5 separate regions of the Homo sapiens genome follow, and all the other regions are linked to region 4. Evidence: promoter capture Hi-C in human tissues and cell types (Jung and others, 2019). All regions are on one chromosome and are shown on one strand. Each heading gives the region's core, a stretch centred on a gene start or on the middle of the fragment in contact. The rest is flanking DNA. Distances are from core to core; before and after follow the strand shown. Region 1 holds the start of PRDM12 (PR/SET domain 12). Region 2 overlaps FUBP3 (far upstream element binding protein 3). Region 3 holds the start of FUBP3 (far upstream element binding protein 3). Region 4 holds the start of LAMC3 (laminin subunit gamma 3). Region 5 has its middle 50 kb from the start of EXOSC2.

What was found. Contacts are between HindIII fragments. The study calls those that stand out against the background at their distance.
Region 1: a contact is called between the fragment with the promoter of PRDM12 here and the fragment with the promoter of LAMC3 in region 4, in 1 of the 25 tissues and cell types used here (pancreas).
Region 2: a fragment that was not itself captured here is called in contact with the fragment with the promoter of LAMC3 in region 4 in 2 of the 25 tissues and cell types used here (adrenal gland and dorsolateral prefrontal cortex).
Region 3: the fragment with the promoter of FUBP3 here is called in contact with the fragment with the promoter of LAMC3 in region 4 in 1 of the 25 tissues and cell types used here (lymphoblastoid cells).
Region 5: a contact is called between a fragment that was not itself captured here and the fragment with the promoter of LAMC3 in region 4, in 5 of the 25 tissues and cell types used here (adrenal gland, aorta, dorsolateral prefrontal cortex and 2 more).

What each region holds. Positions count from the first base shown.
Region 1 is chr9:130,662,360-130,666,077 of GRCh38, reverse strand. PRDM12 (PR/SET domain 12) reads right to left here and starts at 1,484. Exons shown (of 5, transcript NM_021619.3): 1 at 1,202-1,484. The coding sequence starts at 1,424. RefSeq lists enhancers at 237-910, 2,201-3,042. The HindIII fragment of the contact is 18,845 bases long and covers 1-3,718 here.
Region 2 is chr9:130,604,397-130,608,374 of GRCh38, reverse strand. The region is part of intron 2 of FUBP3 (far upstream element binding protein 3); the gene reads right to left. Among named protein-coding and RNA genes, the nearest start is that of MIR6856, 20 kb to the left of the region's middle. The HindIII fragment of the contact is 5,498 bases long and covers 1-3,978 here.
Region 3 is chr9:130,578,309-130,581,942 of GRCh38, reverse strand. It overlaps FUBP3 (far upstream element binding protein 3), which reads right to left and starts at 2,366. Exons shown (of 19, transcript NM_003934.2): 1 at 2,179-2,366. The coding sequence starts at 2,262. LOC100272217 (a long non-coding RNA gene) reads left to right here and starts at 2,449. Exons shown (of 1, transcript NR_027440.1): 1 at 2,449-3,634. It overlaps LOC124902286 (a long non-coding RNA gene), which reads right to left and starts at 2,103. Exons shown (of 2, transcript XR_007061818.1): 1 at 1,695-2,103; 2 at 1-1,284. RefSeq lists a silencer at 2,049-2,418. The HindIII fragment of the contact is 10,079 bases long and covers 915-3,634 here.
Region 4 is chr9:131,007,385-131,010,978 of GRCh38, reverse strand. It overlaps LAMC3 (laminin subunit gamma 3), which reads right to left and starts at 1,805. Exons shown (of 28, transcript NM_006059.4): 1 at 1,392-1,805. The coding sequence starts at 1,764. The HindIII fragment of the contact is 10,117 bases long and covers 1-3,594 here.
Region 5 is chr9:130,742,266-130,746,170 of GRCh38, reverse strand. It overlaps a transcript of ABL1 not described here. Among named protein-coding and RNA genes, the nearest start is that of EXOSC2, 50 kb to the right of the region's middle. The HindIII fragment of the contact is 5,419 bases long and covers 1-3,905 here.

The DNA of each region.
Region 1 (3,718 bases), core at 235-2,734, 340 kb after region 4:
CCAAAGAAGCACCGGCAGCAGCTGGCCAGGCTCTGCGCTCGCTGTGTGACCCCGGGCGCGCCCGAGTCCCTCTCTGCTCCCAGGCCCTGGGGTGCCAGGGAGGGCGGCGCCCGGGCTCAGACAAACCCCGATGTCATCTCTCTGGGCGGGGAGGAGCCGCGGCGGCCCCCAGCTCCCCGAGGGTTCCCCTGTCGGGCATCTGCGGCAGGGCTGGAAGCGGCGAGGCGCACAAGGGCGGCCTCCATGTCTTACAAGGTTCCCCTCTAAGCTACCTGGGAAAATACCCGGCGAGCGGGCCGGCTGAAAGGGGGGGGTTAAACGGTGTCCATTGCGGCGCGGCGGGCAATTTGTCACGCTGTTAAAGTGATCGCATTCATTCGGCTCCATTCGAAAGAAATTGCTAATTCTAAATTCATTAGCCCTGGAAGAATGCTGTAGCAGTAAATTGTAGCTCAATGCGGAGGGGACTTGTTTAAAAGGGGCCGAGGAATTCCCCTTACAAAAAAGGGGGATTAGATGGTTGACATAGCGTGAATGGAAGTGGAATTAGTCTTCACGGTAAATTAAGAGAGGAACAGAAATCGTAAAGGGGGAAAAGAGGGCGACGCGCAGAGATGCCAGAGCCAGGGAAAGATATTGTTTGCGGGTTGATGAATGAGGAATAAGAACTTGAGACATCTTAAAGAAAAGAAACTTTTCTCGCTCTCTCTTTCTCTCCCTCGCTCTCCCCGCGGCTTTTTCTCCCCGCCCGCCCTCCCTCCACCCCCTCCCCAGCCCCGGCTGCCTTTTAAAGTTCTTGGTTTAAGTGGGAACTTTCGTGGGTCAAGCCCAAGTTAACTAAATGAATTTAAAACCCCTTCTTTTTGAGTCAACTGCTATTACACGCCTAGTAAGGCTGTAAATGCCGGGAACCCGCCAGCTCAAGCGCAGGAGGGGAAGGGAGGGGCCGGCGGGGGCGTCGGGGCCGAGCGACGGGGTCGCCGGGGTCGGTCCTTGAGCCGGGTGGGCTGCGGAGCTGCTTGGTGGCTCGCGTCCTGGTTTGGCCCATGGGGAAACTGAGGTGCACCGAGCGCCGGGAGAGCCCAGGTTGGCGCGAGTAGCAGCGAGGCCGGGTATCCCAGCCGCGTCTCGCGCATCGCCAGGACGGGAATGGGGGTCGCCGGGAGGAGGGATTGCGCCGGGCTCCGACGGCTGGACTCACCGCCGGAGAAGGACTGCGCCAGCACCTCGGCGGTGAAGGCTGTCTTGGGGCTGGCGTGGTGGCTCTTGTCCTCGAAGAGCTGCTCCCCGAGCACGTTGCGCCAGCGGCCGTACAGGAAGCTGTGCAGGATGTCGGAGGTGATAACCTCGGCCAGCGCCAGTCCCGGCGCCTTCAGCCCGGTCTTGAGCACCAGGGCCTCAGCCGGGAGCACGGAGCCCATCATGGGCGGCCCGGAGCTCCCCGGCGCCGGGGGACGGCCGGGCCGACGGGGGAGGTGGGCGGGCGAGAGGGGAGCCCAAGGGGCGAGAGGAGAGCGCTGCGATGGAGAAGGAACCAGAGCAGGGGGAGGACGGAGAGGAGGAGGACGCAGGAGGGAGCGGGAGGTGAGGGGGCGACTGGGAGGAAAGCGAACGAGGGGGAGAGGGGAAGAGAGATGGTGAAATCTGTAGAGATGGCAAAGGCGGCGCGGAGGGTGGAGAGACGCGGGTGGAGGCGGAGGCGGGTGCGGGGGGTGCAGGGTGGGTGAGAGGCGGGTGGTTGCAGGGAAGCGGCAGCAAGGGGCTCAGGCGCGCGCTAGCCTCTCGCACACTCGGCCGGGGCCGTCTTCCCCTTGGCAAAATCTCAGCGCCTTTATAGGAGCCGCAGTGACCCTCCTAATTGGTTATTAATGACCCCCTGACGTCGGAGGACAGACTTGTTGTACCCGGCTGGGCTCGAGGAGCCTTCGTCGCGAGAGCGCGAGGGGCGGGGGCGCGCGGACCGCTCCAAACAGTACCCCTCCACTCCTCTCTCCCCTTCCTGGTCCTTCCTCCCCCCTCCTGTTTTTCCTTCTCTCCCCGTGGGAAGCGCAGGGCAGGGAGGGAGGCTCAGCCGGCTCTGAGGAGAGGAGGGGACGGAGAAGGGGAGGGGGTGCGGCGAGGCTCTCTAGGACTCCAGGGACCAGGCTAGACAAGAGGGGACGCCTGGCTTCGGGCCCCGCGCTCCCCTCAGGCCTGATCTATGTTCACCGGCCTGGCCCAGCCCGGCGTTCACCTTTACTTTGCTGCCCCGGCTGGCCGGCCCAGCCCTGCACCGCTCTCCCTCCCCGGCCAGAGCCCGCGTCCTCTTCCCTCTCCGGCCCTGCACTCCCCGGGCCGCCACAGTCGCCCCGAGCTCGCGCGCAGCCCTAGTTGCCACGCGGATCCCCTGCTCAGACTGCGCTGCTGAAGCCGGCGCTTCGCTTCATACGGGCCGCGCCAACTCGGTCGCTGTGCACGGTCGGGTGCGAAACTCCTCCGCGGGCTCACGGGGCTGCCGAGGCGGGGCCGCAGCGGCCGTCGGGGCTGGGGCTGGTCCCGGCCTGAGACAGCTTCATGGAAGGCCAGGCTCCCGGCCCTTGCGGGGCCAGGTCGGGGGTCGAGATGGGCGGACAGGAATCGCCCTGGCAGCCTGTCTCTGGGAAAAGAATTTCCTACGGGATATAGGGGGATTGAAAGGGGTCCCGAGACCCTTCCTAGGTGGGAGCAGGCGTGCCTGAGAGCGAAGTCCCTCAGAAACTGCAGGCAGCTCCGCGAGAGGCCTCAGTGCGGGTTCGGCTTGCGGCCCGGCTTTCCGGCTCCTTGCTGAGCTGCAACCTCGGGAAGCCGGTGGCGTTGCGGCGCCCCTTCCTTCTTGCCTCCTAGTTCTTTCTTTCTCCTCTGCCTCTCTCTTCTTTCCCTTCCTCTCCTCTATTCCTCCTGCCCATCATCCCAGGAGCAGACTTGCTTTGCGGCGGTTTCGAGGCACCTCGGAGCCCAGCGATCCCCTCTCCCGAAGCAGGTAGCTGCTGAGCCCAGCGGAAGGCCCCGCTTCCTGCAGGCTTCGCGGCTCCCCAGTGTCAGCCTCAAGCCTCGGACCCCAGGCCCTGACATGCTGGGTGAGGGAGCTCACCCCACCTGCCGCACTTCTGGCTCCCATCACCAGCCTACAATTTCAGATGCCGCTAACAGAGGTGCCTGGACCCTCTCGGCGTGGGTCAGGCTCACGGATTAGTCTCCGCTGGACTGTGTGGACTCCCTAGACCTTCTCCTCAGCGCGGAGGACTTGGGTGGAAGAACAGCGAGCTGACCTCCCATGAGCGAGACCCTGTCCAAACGCCTGTTGGCATAGACGCCCCTCCACCACCCGGACGCGCCTTGGCTAAGAGGGTCTCACACCTGGCGTCCAGACTCCAGACCCCTGGTCCCCAGTTCCTGCCAGTAGTCTCCGGCATCCCCCGTCCCCGTTGGGACGCAAAGGGAGGAAGGCGGCGGTAGCTGGCCTTCAGACCCTGCGTCCGGGTCCGCCCGAGGCTGGAGCCCAAGGAAGGGCACACCTGGCAGAAGGCAGGACCGTTGGGCAGGGCGCCAGCAGAGGGCAGCGCTGCTGAGGAGGGAGGTGGGTTAGGGTCGCCGAACCCTCCACTCATTTTTCGACGCAGCTTGTGGGTCGCATCGGCTCCCTGGCCAGAGCTCGAGTCTGAGGGGGCGTATGGAGTCCGATGGCTCCTGCAGGGGAGCC
Region 2 (3,978 bases), core at 1,054-3,553, 400 kb after region 4:
TTCCTATTTATGGGTCAAGCTCAGCTTCCCTGATTGCTATCAGAATTCCCCTCTTAGTGGGTAAAGAATCTACTGAAGCCAGAAGAACTAAAATGTCTTGAAATGATGAGAACACAGAGGAGAGGTGCTCAGCATTCCTCAGCTGGGGGAATGAGGCCGCACCGTGGGTTCTGGTCCACTGCGTTGTTTGGTAAAGGATGTCAAAGGGCCGATGATCTTCAGAAATTTCTGTCTCAGCCAGAAAAGCCACAGAAACAAAGGGCAGTGCTACCATAAAGAACTTCCTGAGATTCACAAGAATATTCAGAGGGCTCCTGTTCAAAAGCCATTTGAAATTTTGTGCTCATCACAAAAATGGCAATTCCTTTTTGTTGGCAAAGTATGTGTTACAGGTGCCACGCACATGACACCATTCCTGCCAGCCACGGTGGAGGCACTCATAATGACCAGAGATGAAAATGTTCACACTATCATCCCACAGATAGATGGGCTGCTGAGAGCCGCATCACTGAGAGGAAATCAGGTTCAAGTCCAGAGTCAACTCTGAGCTGGCAGATGCTTAGGAAGGATAAATCATCTCCCTCCTCCATGCAAATGCTGGAGTCCACCCAAGGCTGAAACATGTGATTGCAGTTTCATTCCCTTCGGAACATTCCCATTTGCTGCCTAAAAATGAAAACCAGCAGTTAGATCAGGGGCGCTGGGTACTCATATGGCCAACTTCTATGTCCAACTCCAGGAACAGGAACCTCTCCTCAGTCTTCGCAATGAGGAGGGGTCACACTAAGGAGGCAGATGGGAACACCTATCATATTCAATTGAATGGAACTACACTCATTTTCCTGTAAAAAAGGAAAAATGCTGGGTAAAATCAGTCCTGTTTCCACTAATGGTGTGTGCTGGTTGACAATGCATCTTCTTGCTTCTAAAGGTCCCGTTGGAGCAATTCCAGCATATACAGGTGTAGTTCTCGTTTCCCTTGTGCACTATATAATACGAACTGCCTGGGCTGTGAGTCATCCTACGATATCATAAATTCTTTCTGAAGAGTAATACTCTGCCAATTTTAATAATAATCTTAAAAAAAAAAAAAAAGGAGGTCAGGTCAGGTGCTGTCACTCATGCCTGTAATCCCAGCACTTTGGGAGGCCAAGGCAGGCAGATAACTTGAGGCCAGGAGTTCGAGACCTGCCTGGCCAACATGGCAAAACCCTGTCTCTAGTAAAAAAAAAAAAAATACACAAATTAGCTGGGTGTGGTGGTGCACATCTGTAATCCCAGCTACTCGGGAGGCTGATGCACAATGAACCGGGGAGGTGGAAGTTGCAGGGAGCTGGGATCGTGTCATTGCACTCCAGCCTGGGTGACAGAGCAGAACAATCTTAAAAATCAATCAATCAAACAAACAATAACACAAAAAAAGGTGATCAGACACATTTTTCCCTATTAGTGAAGAAAAAAAGATTTCATTTTTTTTTTCTCCTCCAAAAGAAACAAAACTGCACTGGGAAATACATGCAACTTTGCAATACACATCAGCTTTTTTTTTTTCCTGAGACAGAGTCTCGCTCTTCTTGCCCAGGCTGGAGTGCAAAGGCGTGATCTCGGCTTACCACAACCTCTGCCTCCTGGGTTCAAGCGATTCTCCTACCTCAGCTTCCCGAGTAGCTGGGATTACAGGCATGCGCCACTACGCCCGGCTAATTTTGTATTTTTAGTAGAGACGGGGTTTCTCCATGTTGGTCAGGCTGGTCTCGAACTCCCGACCTCAGGTGATCCGCCCACTTTAGCCTCCCAAAGTGCTGGGATTACAGGCGTGAGCCACCGCGCCCGGCCACATCAGCTTTAATAGTTATACCCCCACTCCCACCCCAGCACAAGGAACAAAAATGCCAATTCCTCCTTCACGACAGCACAGCCAGCACGGGCTGGCACCCACACGGAACCACTGGCCAGAGGCAGGTGAGTGAGTCTGTTGGGGGGGGGTGGGGAGAGAGGAATACCAGTTTTTATAACTGTAAAAACAAATAACCCAAATCTTCCTTTTTAGATTTTGAAAACAATCCCCCCTCCTCTGCCTCTTCTTTGGATTTGCAGTCTCCTCTGACTGACCAATGGCTTTCCACACCCCAGCTCAGGTCAGTAACACACACTTAGCGGTGAGGATTCAGGGCGTTTTTAGAAAGCTTTTCCCCCAGGGACACTACAAAGGCTTCCTGTGTTCTAGGCAGCAACTCTTGCTCCAGGGCCACAAAACACTGACATGCTGAGTTCAGCTGAAAGTCCTTTGGCAAGCATAATTTATTAATTTTGCAAATTATTTTTTAAAAAGTGAAAGTAAATTCAAGTTTATCTCAATAATGTCACTCTTTTTTGTTGTTGTTGTTGTTTGAGACAGAGTCTCGCTCTGTCTCCCAGGCTGGAGTGCAGCGGCGCGATCTCGGCTCACTGCAACCTCCGCCTCCCGGGTTCGTGCGATTCTCCTGCTTCAGCCTACCAAGTAGCCAGGATTACAGGTGTGTGCCGCCATGCCTGGCTAATTTTTGTACTTTTAGTAGAGATGGGGTTTTACCATGTTGGCCAAGCTGGTCTCAAACTCCTGACATCAGGTGATCCGCCTGCCTTGGCCTCCCAAAGTGCTGGGATTACAGGTGTGAGCCACCGTGCCCAGCCAATCACATCACTCTTACTTGTAGTCTACTGTAAGCTTCTGTGAGTGGAAAGACCACCACCCCCAGCCACACTAGGTGCTTTCCTGGGCACCTCACCTGCGTGAACCCACTTGGTCCTACAAGAACCCACCTTTGAGGCAGCTACTGTCACTGCCATTCCCATCTTACTGAAGAGGAAGGTGCGATCACACTGCACCCAAGCCCTCAGAGTGGCATGCAGGCGAGGGGCCTGTGCCCATGCAAACTCTGTACCCCTTCATCTTCCCCTGTCCTTTAATTTTGTGGGTTTCAACACTTATCACTGTTTAATTTTGTGCTATTAACTCTCTTGATCATTCTTCATCTCACAAGTCAGCGCCTTCCAGGTGCTGAGCACTGTGACAGGACCTGAGGATACAACAGTCAACAAAGCCACCTTTGCCCTCAGGGAGCTTACAGTCTAGCAGGGAAGGCAGAAGGCAACAGATGAGGGGGCCTACCCTAGCCTCCAGGGACGTGTTGGGCCCTGCACCTTCTCCTCAAGAGCCTAAGAGGAAAAAGAATTCTATGATAGTATATTCATAGCCCTAAGCTTTACTTTCATTTACGCCAGTGTCATGAAATCAATATAGGGGGTCACAACCAGCTTTATTAATAAAAATGAAATAGAAAACAGAATGTACCATATATAATAAGGGTAATGTATTTCATAAAACTTTCATTTCAGTCACATATGTGTTTTAATATGTCTGTACTAACTAGTTCTGATGGAAACAGTTTTTCTCACATTGGGAGTGGTATTTCTTTCTTTTTTTTTTTTTTTGTTTGAGACAGAGTCTTGCTCTGTCGCCAGGCTGGAGTGCAGTGGCACGATCTCGGCTCACTGCAATCTCCACCTCCTGGGTTCAAGTGATTCCCCTGCCTCAGCCTCCCGAGTAGCTGGGACTAAAGGCGCGCACCACCATGCCCAGCTAATTTTTTTGTATTTTAATAGAGGCGGGGTTTCACCTTGTTGGCCAGGATGGTTTCAATCTCCTGACCTCGTTGATCTGTCTGCCTTGGCCTCCCAAAGGGGATTACAAGCATGAGCAACCATGCCAGGCCCGGGAGTAGTATTTCTTAAAGCTTGAAAATAACATGATATAACCCTCATGATAATCTGATGAGGCAGGTATCATCAGGTCCATTGTACAGATGAGGAAACACAGGCTCAGAGACGTTAAGGAACTTGCCCAAGGTCAAACAGCTAATGACTAGCAAAGCTGGGATTCAAACCTTGATCTGTCAGACTCTGAAGTCCACATGTTTAAGTACTATACTATTATGG
Region 3 (3,634 bases), core at 1,117-3,616, 430 kb after region 4:
AAGCCTAGTTGATAAGGTGTTGGACTTCACACACCAAACTTAATAGAAACTGCAGGTTCAAATCCCAGCAGGGTCAACTGAGAGTATTACGATCTGCTAGAAAAACTGAGCGTGAGACACTTTACTGCTCTTTGACAAATTTAAGAGGGCCTTCCAGACTGTCTCTGGAGTTTATGAGGAGACATAAAAGGGGAAAAAGCTTTGCGTTTAAATAAATATACTGTCTTTTAGTTCTGTTTAATGGGGAGAAAAATCACATCTCTGTAACATGCTGTGTATATAACAAAGAAACAGAACTATCACCTTCCAGATACCCAAATGAGATCCTTACAGTAAGTTTACCATCAGCATACAGTATTACAGATTTCTAACATTCCGTTCTTGCCCAATGCAAATCTATATACAATAAACCTAAAATTACCCACCAACCTGGTTTTTCTTTAGTTTTTAAAGGCCATCAAATCCTTGGAGATAGTATGGACCTCCAGCTGTTAACATTCAGAAGGAACACACTTACAGCCCTGTCTCCATTGGGCTTATTACTGCTCCAGTCAATGGTGCATTTCAGAGCTGAGAACAATTCCAATGAAGTTTTCACTGCTAGTAGTAAACACCACTGCTTCAACAATCCACATTAGGTCAGCATTTACCAGAGGGTCTCCCTCTGGAGCAGGTTGTCCAAGAATATGAGTTCAACCACTGGCTCAAGAGAAGCGGAATGTCTTCTCAATGGTTCAAAATTCACTTTATGTTCAACTACAGGCCTTCTGCAAACTGAGGATCTGAGCCCTTTAGGGCAGTGACTATAATTCTTCCCGGACATAGAAGGCCAACAAGGTGACTGTCACACATCAGCACAGAGCGAAAGCCATTACATATTAGTAGCCAGTGAGAAACAAGGTTCAGGACCCTGTACTGTAGAGGAGAGCACTGTAACACGCCAGCAAGCAGAGTGGTGGAAGGGGAGCTGGGTGGCATGTTCATCCATTACAGCCATGGGTGGATCTGAAGTCTAAGTAAGATGGATACTCACTACTGTACTGGTTGGCAGCTAGGCAGTAAAGTAACAATTCATCAGATAAAATTTTAGGTGGAACCACAGGTTTGGAAAGTTCTGGGATCCAATATAATGTCTATAGGAGCATCAATATATAACATGAAAAGTCAGTTATCAGGGAAACAGGTAGGGTTCCCTCCCCTGGAATACTGGAAAGAGATGTAAAGACCATATCTTCAAGCGCCCGAGTGAAGACCTTCTTCTAATACAATGACTCCTGTGGCTTTCTGTTAGGAATCAAGCAGTAATTAGTTATAGCCCAACTTTTAAAGTATCAGTGCGCTTACAATTACATAAGAAGAGAGGAGGACATAAGACACTTAACCGAGGAAGCTGAAGTGTTAGGGCTGACTTGTAAGTAAGTTTTAGATACAAATGAAGAACACGTTCTGTTCTAAGTACCATGCCAGAAGCCAGTAAGTATTTTTGGCAGGTCCCATATTCACTCTCTGGGGAAGCCTGGAGCCTTCTAAAACCCAGTTAATTTAACTTTGATTAAATGCACGACATTGTCAGACAGTAAAGTTTCAATGTCGGAATGAGGCCATATCATTCTCCCCAGTAGAGGCAAGCTTGCCATGAGAAATTTCTACATCTTGGGGACCACCCCCACACATGTAACACCTCCCTCTCTCACCTCTCCAAAGAGCACCCTCACATATAAGATGCCCTCGAGTTCCTTCTACTCAACAGAAAGTCTAAAGACGATGTTCCCCAAGTTTTAACAAGCTACTGGGCGTCAGACAGCTGCTTTATGTCTACACCCAGATCCTCCCCGTGGGCTTCCCGGACCCCTCCCCTCGCGAGGTTCAGAACCCCGCGCTAGCTACACTGTGGGTCCAGGCTGGCCGCTGGGGCACGATGGGGCCAGACGCTCTAAGCAAACCCTTTCCCAGCGACTTCAGGCACCTGGGAGACCCGCCCGACAGGCCGGGCCTGGGCCTCGCAGTGGCGCCTTATCCCCCCGGCTCCTCCCGGCTGTAGGAACTCCACGGAACGGCCCGGCCCGGCTGAGACGTCGGTTCAGGCTGCCTCCCGCCCCCCAGGCCCGAACCCCTCTTCCCCGCCCGCCAGGCCCCGCCTCGGGATCTCGTGCTCCTGCCAGCCGGCTGCGCCCGTACCTGCCGGACCCGGTGCAGGGCATCCACGAAGCCCTCGGCCTTCATCCCCACAGGAGCGCTCTGCCCCTGCACCAGCTCCGCCATTACCGCCCCCGCCGCCGTCGCCGCCGCCGCCGACGCCGCCGACGCCGCCGCTCGGCTCCCCGGTCCGGCCTCCCGCTCCGCTTGGGGACCCGTAGCCGGAAAAGGAAAGTCGCCCTACTTCCGGCGGAAGGGAAAGCCGGGACGCTCGCAGCTGGAGGAGTCGCGTCTGCGGGGCGGGGTCAGGGCACGTGACCTTCGACCGATCGGAAGTGGGGGCGGGACGGCAGCGCCGGGGTGGGCTCAGATCGCCAGGCAGCCGTGGGTCTCCAGGGTCCGGTCGCGACCCTTCCCTTCCCGGGCGGGATTTGGTCCAGGACCGTCGATGGCGTCTTGACAGGTCCCCGAGGCTTGGATGTGGTCCCGAGGTGTCCGCTGTCGGCCGTTTGGAATCTCAGAGGGACTGACGTGGCTCTCCCAAGACGGCACCCCGAACAGTCGTGGTTCATCAAAAGCCTGGTCCTGGGTAGCCCCTCCCTGAAATGGCTGTTGGTTGGGAATTTGGGGGCTGAGCGCTTTGAAAGGGCATTGGGACAGCATCACAGAATGTCAGTGTCCCACATTTGCGAGGAGTCCCGGGCCCCAGTTCTTACACTGCAGTTTGCATGAGGATGGGCCACCGCCACTTCCGCCTGGGGTTGTCTGGTGATGCCCCCAGGAGAGACGCGCCCACTGAAAAGCCAGCGTGGTGTCCTCTTACACGGTCCTTAACAAACTCTGGGACTCTGGGGGTGCAGGAAATACCACAGGACCGTCATTACTCCCATACCGGCTGAGTCACAACTGTATTGCAGGAGGCTTCTTGGAACGCCTATGTAACTTTAATGGAAGTGACCAGGTACAGATCTTCTACAGCAAGGAAGGAATCTTAGTGCTAGAATTCAGTTGAGCCTTTGAGTTGGCTCTTCTTATAAGTGAGCAAACAAGTAACAAGGTTTAGGGGGCGCCCATTTTTGTGTTAGCACGATTGCCCTCGTGTTTAATATTTCCCAAGCCCTATTATGATAAGGAGTTGGACTTAATGAAGAACCATGTTGTCAAACATCTTATGCCCATCTTGAAGTTGTGAAGGAGGATGAGCACCAAGAAAAGGAAATAAATAAAATCCAATACGGGCCGGGTGCGGTAGCTCACGCCTGTAATCTTAGCAGTTTGGGAGGCCAAGGCAGGCAGAACTCTTGAGCCCAGAAATTCAAGACCAGCCTAGGCAGCATAGTGAGACCCCGTCTCTACAAAAAATATAATTAGCTGGGCGTGGTGGCAAACACCTGTAGTCCCAGCTACTTGGGAGGCTGGAGTGGGAGGATCACCTGAGCCCTGGAGGTCAAGGCTGCAGTGAGCTATGATCACGCCACTGCAGTACAGCGTGGGTGAC
Region 4 (3,594 bases), core at 556-3,055:
TGATACCAGCCCCTCCTGAAAGGGCAGTGGAGGCTGCAACAGGAAAGACACTTGGCGCTTACCCGGCCACAGAGGACATGGGAATCGGGCTGAACACGGAGGGAGGAGAGAGCATTCCAGCTCCCTGCAGTGGGGGCAGGGGCTGAGAACCGGGGCTGGGTCCAGACTCCAGATTCTGATTCCTGGAGATCTAAGGGCTTCTGCACCTCGGCAAGTCATGAGCAGGGCAGAGAGGCCATGCCACCGGGCGCAGCTGCCCAGCAGCACGAAGAAACTTAGTCCTCCTCCCCAGAGGGTTAAACTTTGCCTGTGCAGTGATGAACATCACAGCTTCTATCTTCCAGAACCCACCCGAGGACTGCAGGCAGCTTCAGGGGTCCACTGAATACCTGAAGTTGACCAGAAGACCCAAGATCAGGAGCCCCTGCCCTAGAGGGTGACCAATTCAGTCCTTGGTGTGTCACCTCCCCAACAGTTCTGGTCTAGGATGGAAAACCATTACAGGGGATTATAATTGCAACCTAGAACCAAAGCTCAGCAAGTGACTCCCTGCCTCTCCCGCCCCACGGGGCACCCCTCAGTCTATCCTTCTGGCTATCTAGGGGTACAGGTCCTGTTTTTTTTTCTTCTTTTTTTCATTCTTTCTTTTTATTAAGAGATAAGGTCTCACTCTGTAGCCCAGGCTGTAGCACAGTGGCACTATCATATTTCATGCAGCCTCAACCTCTCAGTCTTAAGTGATCCTCCTGCCTCAGCCTCTTGAGTAGCTGGGACCATAGGTGTGCACCACCACGCCCAGCTTTTTTTTTTTTTTTTTTTTTTTTTTGAGACGGAGTTAGCTCTGTTGCCCAGGCTGGAGAACGGTGGTGCGACCTCGGCTCACGGCAACCTCCACCTCCCGGGTTCAAGCGATTCTCCTGCCCCAGCCTCCTGAGTAGCTGGAACTACAGGCACCTACCACCACGCCCGGCCAAATTTTCTATTTTTAGTAGAGACGGGTTTTCACCATGTTGGCCAGGCTGGTCTCGAACTCCTGACCTCAGGTGATCCGCCCGCCTCGGCCTCCCAAAGTGCTGGGATTACAGACGTCAGCCACCGCGCCCGGCCTATTTTTCTTTATTTTTTGTAAAGATGGGATCTCACTACGTTGCCCAGGCTGATCTTGAACTCCTGGGCTCAAGCGACCCTCCCATCTCGGCCTCCCAAAGTGCTGGGATTTCAGGAGTGAGCCACCGCACCCAGCCTAATTCCTATTTCTGAGCCCCTCCATCCAACACCATATCTGGGTCCTGCAGCCCAACCTGGGCGCACAGCAGCTCAGGCCTCAGCCTCAGACCCCCAGTGGAGTGGGGACACGGGGTGCGGTGGCGGTGCCCCCAGCCCGCGCTTACCTAGGCGGAGGGTGATGTTGACCGAGGTGGGGTACTGCACGCCGAAGGCCATGGACGGGCTCTGCCACCAGGTGCTCTCGTCCTGGCTGTGGAAGTCGGTGAGGTAGGAGGCGTTGTGGTGGCGCTGGGGGTCGGCGGCGTCGCAGCGCTGGCAATGAGCCCCCGCGCCCGCGGCGCCCACGTGGGGACAGAAGTCCTCGGGCGGGCTGCCGCACGTGTGCGAGGCCTGGGCGAGCCGCCCAAACGCCGCGTTCTCGAACACCGGCAGGCAGCGCTGCGGGCGCCCTGCGCCGTCATAGCACGCGCCCATGCCCGCGCCGGCCGCCCGCGGTGCCAGCAGCGCCAGCCCCAGCAGAAGCGCAGCCGCCGCCATGGTCAAGGGCACCGACGCCGCGCGCTCTGCCGGCCCCGCTCGGCTAGGGTGGGCGCGGACCGCGCGCTGGCCGCCAGGACCCGCCTTCCCCTGCGGGGCGGGGAGGCTGGAGGGAGGGGCGGGCGGCGGCGGCCCCACCCCACTAAAAATACCAGGGACCGCGCCGTCCCCGGGCGCCCACTCCCACCTGCTGGACGTGCCCGGCAGTGCGCGGCTCGGGAGTCTGCCCCAGAGGCGACCCGGGCCTCTTTGAGCCTCAGTTTCCTCGTCTGTGGAGTGGGGTCGGTAAAGATGCAGGCTCATTCTCGCCATTGGGAGGCTTCAATGGCTGCTCATTAAACAGAAACTGTTCAGCAGTGCCTTGGAGTCCTGAGATAAAAGGGGACAAGAGGATCTATCTCTAACTGATCGCTACCGTTTGCGCATCTCCTCCTAGCAATAAAGTGTGCCCTGGACAGGGTTGTGAGATGGCTCCGCATAGCTCCTGTCGCCCTTAACCCTGAAAAGCACTCCTGCTGCCGGCTGCGCTCTGTCCCCACAGCAAAGAGATTCTAACCTGACATTTGTGACAAGGGTACCTGGTCTTATCACAAATGTCACCTCAGAGAGGGCTTCCTTGTCTTCTGCCCCAACCCCCATAAATGCCCCCTTTACTCCCCATTTATTAACATTAGCAAATCGAGGGAGAGAAGTCATTCGATAAAATTTAGCAGCCAGGTCGTGCGCGGTGGCTCACGCCTGTAATCCTAGCACTTTGGGAGGTGGAGGCGGAAGGATAACTTGAGGCCAGGAGTTCGAGACCAACCTGGGCAAAATAGTGAGACCCTATCTCTACAAAAAAATACAAAAATTAGCCCGGCGTCATGGCACAAGCCTGTAGTCCCAGCTACCTGGGAGGCTGAGGTGGAAGGATCCCTTGAGCCCGGGAGGTTAGGCTGCAGTGGGCTGTGATCATGCCATTGCACTCCAGCCTGGCCAACAGAGTCAGACCCTGTCTCGAAAAAAAAAAAAAAAAAAAGGCAGCCATTCCCAGACGAACTCTAAGGAAAATAGAAATAAATTTCCTGGCCTGGCGCGGTGGCTCTCGCCTATAATCCCAGCATTTTGGGAAGTTGAGGAAGGCAGATCACCTGAGGTCAGGAGTTCGAGACCAGCCTGGCCAACATAGTGAAACCCCGTCTCTACTAAAAACACAAAAATTAGCTGGGTGTGGCGGTGCGTGCCTGTAATCCCAGCTACTCAGGAGGCTGAGGCAGGAGAATTGTTTGAACCCGGGGGGCAGAAGTTGCAGTGAACTGAGATCATGCCATTGCACTCCAGCCTGGGCAACAAGAGAGAAACTCCATCAAAAAAAAAAAAAAGAAAGAAAAGAAAGAAAGAAAATTTTTGGAAGCAAGATGAACTGTAGTGGGCTGATTCACTACCAGTTATTTACACATGATTAAAACAATACGGTTGTGGAAAGGACTACAGAATAGACCCATGGAATAAGTTAGAGATTTCAGAACTATATCTAAGTAGAGTTAGTATATGATATCACCACTGGTACCTAAGGTTATTTTGGAAGTTCTAGCTAATACAATAAGACAAAAAACTTAAAAGATATAAATATTTATATCTTCTACTTACCTGAACATACATCTAGAAAATCTAAAAGATTCTACTAAGACTATTAAAATTAATAAGAGCTCCGTAAGATGGCTGACTACAGGATAGAGTACGAAAACCAATGCCAGCAATAGGCATTTTCTGGCTGGGTGCGGTGGCTCACGCCTGTAATCCCAGCACTTTGGGAGGCTGAGGCAGGCAGATCACCTGAGGTCATGAGTT
Region 5 (3,905 bases), core at 1,308-3,807, 270 kb after region 4:
CTGACCAGAAGACCTTGGAAAGGCTTGGAAATAAGCAGCAGTGGGACGTTTTGCTGGTGTCTGCGGTCATACTGTTAGTAAGTGAGCAGCTGAGATTTGAATTCAGATAAACCCATGATTTTAATGTCACCCTTGTCTCTCTATTTGGCCAGGAGATGGACAGTGAAGCATGAAACTGGCAAGGGATAACAGCTCCTACATGTTCCAGAGTCTGTACTTCCATTCACGTTCTGAGTCCGTTAAGTACAAAGCCCACAGCTGGGAAGGGCTGGTTTGACACACAATGGCAAGCCTTACTTTTCCAGGTCCACTTTATTTATTTGATCTTCAATTTGGTAGGGGTACATTCTACTCTTCTGAAAGTAGAATTTTAGTCACAGTCAAGTAAGCAGGACTTTAATAATCAGACAATTGTGGAGTTCATGAGATTAAAAAAATGTCAGATTTCAACACTGATAAACATTTTCCCACATGCATTTCAAAGAACTAGAGCTGAGGTCTGTTATTAAAAGAACTCAGGCTAAAATATTTAAGAAATAACTTTAGAGTGAGAAACCTAAATGTGAAGGTCATTTTCCCCTCACTCCAGGAGGTTCCATTTCCTGTTATAGACCAGAATATGCAAGCAGAGGAGAGGGAGAGAGAGACCAGGAGGTATCATGAGTTTTGCTATTGTTGGTTTGATTTTTTTTTTTCCTTCTACAGAAAACTGAAAATCAAACAGCAGGCGCTCTATTATGCAGGCCAGCATGAACACCTACACAGTTGACAATTAAAAGGTTCCCAGGGCTGGGCACAGTGACTCACGCCTGTAATCCCAGCACTTTGGGAGGCTAAGGCAGGCAGATCACCTGAGGTCGGGAGTTCAAGACTAGCTTGACCAACATGGAGAAATCCTGTCTCTACTAAAAATACAAAATTAGCCAGGTGTGGCGGCGCATGCCTGTAATCCCAGCTACTAGGGAGGCTGAAGCAGGAGAATCGCTTGAACCCAGGAGGTGGAGGTTGCAGTAAGCCGAGATCACACCATTGCCCTCCAGCCTGGGCAACAAGAGCAAAACTCTGCCCCCCTCAAAAAAAAAAAAAAAAAGGTTCCCAGGAAGGGATAACACCCTTCTCACCACTCTACCTTTATTCCTTGCCCACTTTGTCTCAGATAAAAGCAAACAGTTGAAAAACATTCTACCCCAAAACCTCGAATGAAACTTTGGCACTTACATCATTAGGCCACCAATCCTATTGTAATTTCTCTCCTGAAAAGGAACAGCAAAGAAACCAGAGAGAAAAGATAGTTTTGTTTTTTTTTTTTTTTTTGAGACGGAGTCTCACTCTGTCGCCCAGGCTGGAGTGCAGTGGTGCGATCTTGGCTCACTGCAAGCTCCGCCTCCTGGGTTCACGCCATTCTCCTGCCTCAGCCTCCCCAGTAGCTGGAACTACAGGCGCCCACCACTACGCTCGGCTAATTTTTTTTTTTGTATTTTTAGTAGAGATGGCATTTCATCACATTAGCCAGGATGGTCTCGATCTCCTGACCTCGTGATCCGCCTGCCTCGGCCCCCCAAAATGCTGGGATTACAGGCGTGAGCCACTGCGCCTGGCCAGAAAAGACAGTTTTATCCTTCTATGTGTAGAACAAATTCTGGCTTATAAAAGCAAACTATTACTCAAAGTCTTGGTCTCCCCCAGGGTAAAAAGCATTCATCATGTGACAAGCTACAAAAACAAGAAGGGGCCAGGCGTGGTGGCTCACCCCTGTAATCCCAGCACTTTGGGAGGCCGAGGCGGGTGGATCACGAGGTCAAGAGATCGAGACCATCCTGGCCAACACGGTGAAACCCCATCTCTACTAAAAATACAAAAATTAGCTGGGCATGGTGGCATGCGCCTGTAGTCCCAGTTACTCGGGAGGCTGAGGCAGGAGAATCTCTTGAACCCGGGAGGCAGAGGTTGCAGTGAGCCGAGATTGTGGCCACTGCACCCCAGCCTAGCGAAAGAGAGCGAGTCCGTCTCAGGGAAAAAAAGAAAAAAACAAGAAGGGTTGTGATAGGAGCTTTGATGTAAAAGCTGGGTAGCAAATTAGGGAACAGGAAAAAAAAAAAAGTTAATAAATGTTACCAGTACTAAAATTTGTTTTAAAGATAAAATGTTTGAATATTTGTATGCAGCAAGCATGTTGTTTCCAAAAATATCCTTAAGGGAGCATAGAAACACACCCGCTTCCAATCCCTCAATGTGGCCACTCCAGACATCTGCCTAACACCATGCCTCTTGATGGCCACCTCCCCTACCTCTTTACAGGACAGCTACATAGGGCCTATGTGGCTCACCCCTCTTGTTCCCCGACCCCACAAGTACTAGATGAATATGCTACAGTGACCATGTCTCAATCACAGCGTGACCCCCACAAAGCTTGTGCCTGCTCCCTTTAAACCCATCAATTAGAACTATTGGCTTCGGTAACATAATAGCCCTAGGAAACCCACTTGGGAAACTCCCTGGACTCCCAATAAAGGTTTTGGCCCAGGATTCTCTCTCTCTCCTCTCTGGGATCAGTAAGTAATAAAAATACTTCTGCTATTTCATGTGTCTTGCTGTGCTGCTCTGTGTCTCACCTGACCAATGCATTCAAACCTATTTTCCTGGGCAGGGCTAGAATCTATAGCCACTCTCAAGAGAGAGACCTTAGGACCAAATTAGAATTGACATTTGCAAAAGAGCCAGGAATACCAGGAGGTGGGGAATCACTGGGGGTCATCTTAGAGGCTACCTCCCCCAAGCACTATTAAAAGAATAAACTAGGCTGGGCGTGGTGGCTCACACCTGTAATCCCAGCACTTTGGGAGGCCAAGACGGGTGGATCACCTGAGGTCACGAGTTCAAGTCCAGCCTGGCTAACACGGCAAAACCCCATCTCTACTAACAATACAAAAATTAGCCGGGCATGGTGGCGCAAGCCTGTAATCCTGGCTACTTGGGAGGCTGAGGCAGGAGAATCACTTGAACCCAGGAGATGGAAGTTGCAGTGAGCCGATATCACGCCACTGCACTCTAGCCTGGGCAACAAGAGCGAAACTCTGTCTCCAAAAAACAAGAATCAACTTTAGTGTAAGATGTTAAAATAGCTGTATGACAAATGTTAAATCAAGATTTTAAAAAAACGGTGAAGCAAATTCAGTCCCATTGCTCATTAATAATAATTTTTTAGAAACAAAAAAATTTTGTACCAGTAACGCATTTTTTAAAGTTTTAAATATTTACAATGCAATTTATTTCATCTTCATTTTCATTTTATGAATGCTTTATAATATACGGTATTATACAGTATATATTATATAATATAAAGTATCTTAATAGCACATACTAATGTGCGTACATCTGATATACATATAAACATACATACGATACACACATATTTGTTTGCTCACAAAATTCTAATAAGGGTACATGACCTTTTTTAAAATGAAGACTGTTACTCTATATAATGGGAACCACCAGAGAGTTTTGAGCTACTGAACCCCAAACTTAGATTTGCACTTTAGAATAAAGGCTCTTTATTACCAAATTTACCAAATTACCAAGTTTACCAAATTACCAAAGTTACCAAAGCATTATTTGGTAGTGCCTAGCACAGAGAAAGCCCTCAATGGCAGCAACAGGTAGGGAATATGTGACGAAACCTGGAGTCTAGCTAAGATGGGTTATTTAAGCACGGCCCATCATCTGTAAATCTAGTAATGGCCTCCAGTTTTCCCAATGCACTTCAGGAGAGGTGGAAGTGCTTTTGTTGAAATGGGTCTCAACTTCTAGCCAATGGAGAAAAAGCTTTAAATGTAGTCATCATCAGTACATCTCAGAAGTATGTGGGTAAGGGCATTGACCTGGATTAATCACCGAAAAGCTACGTG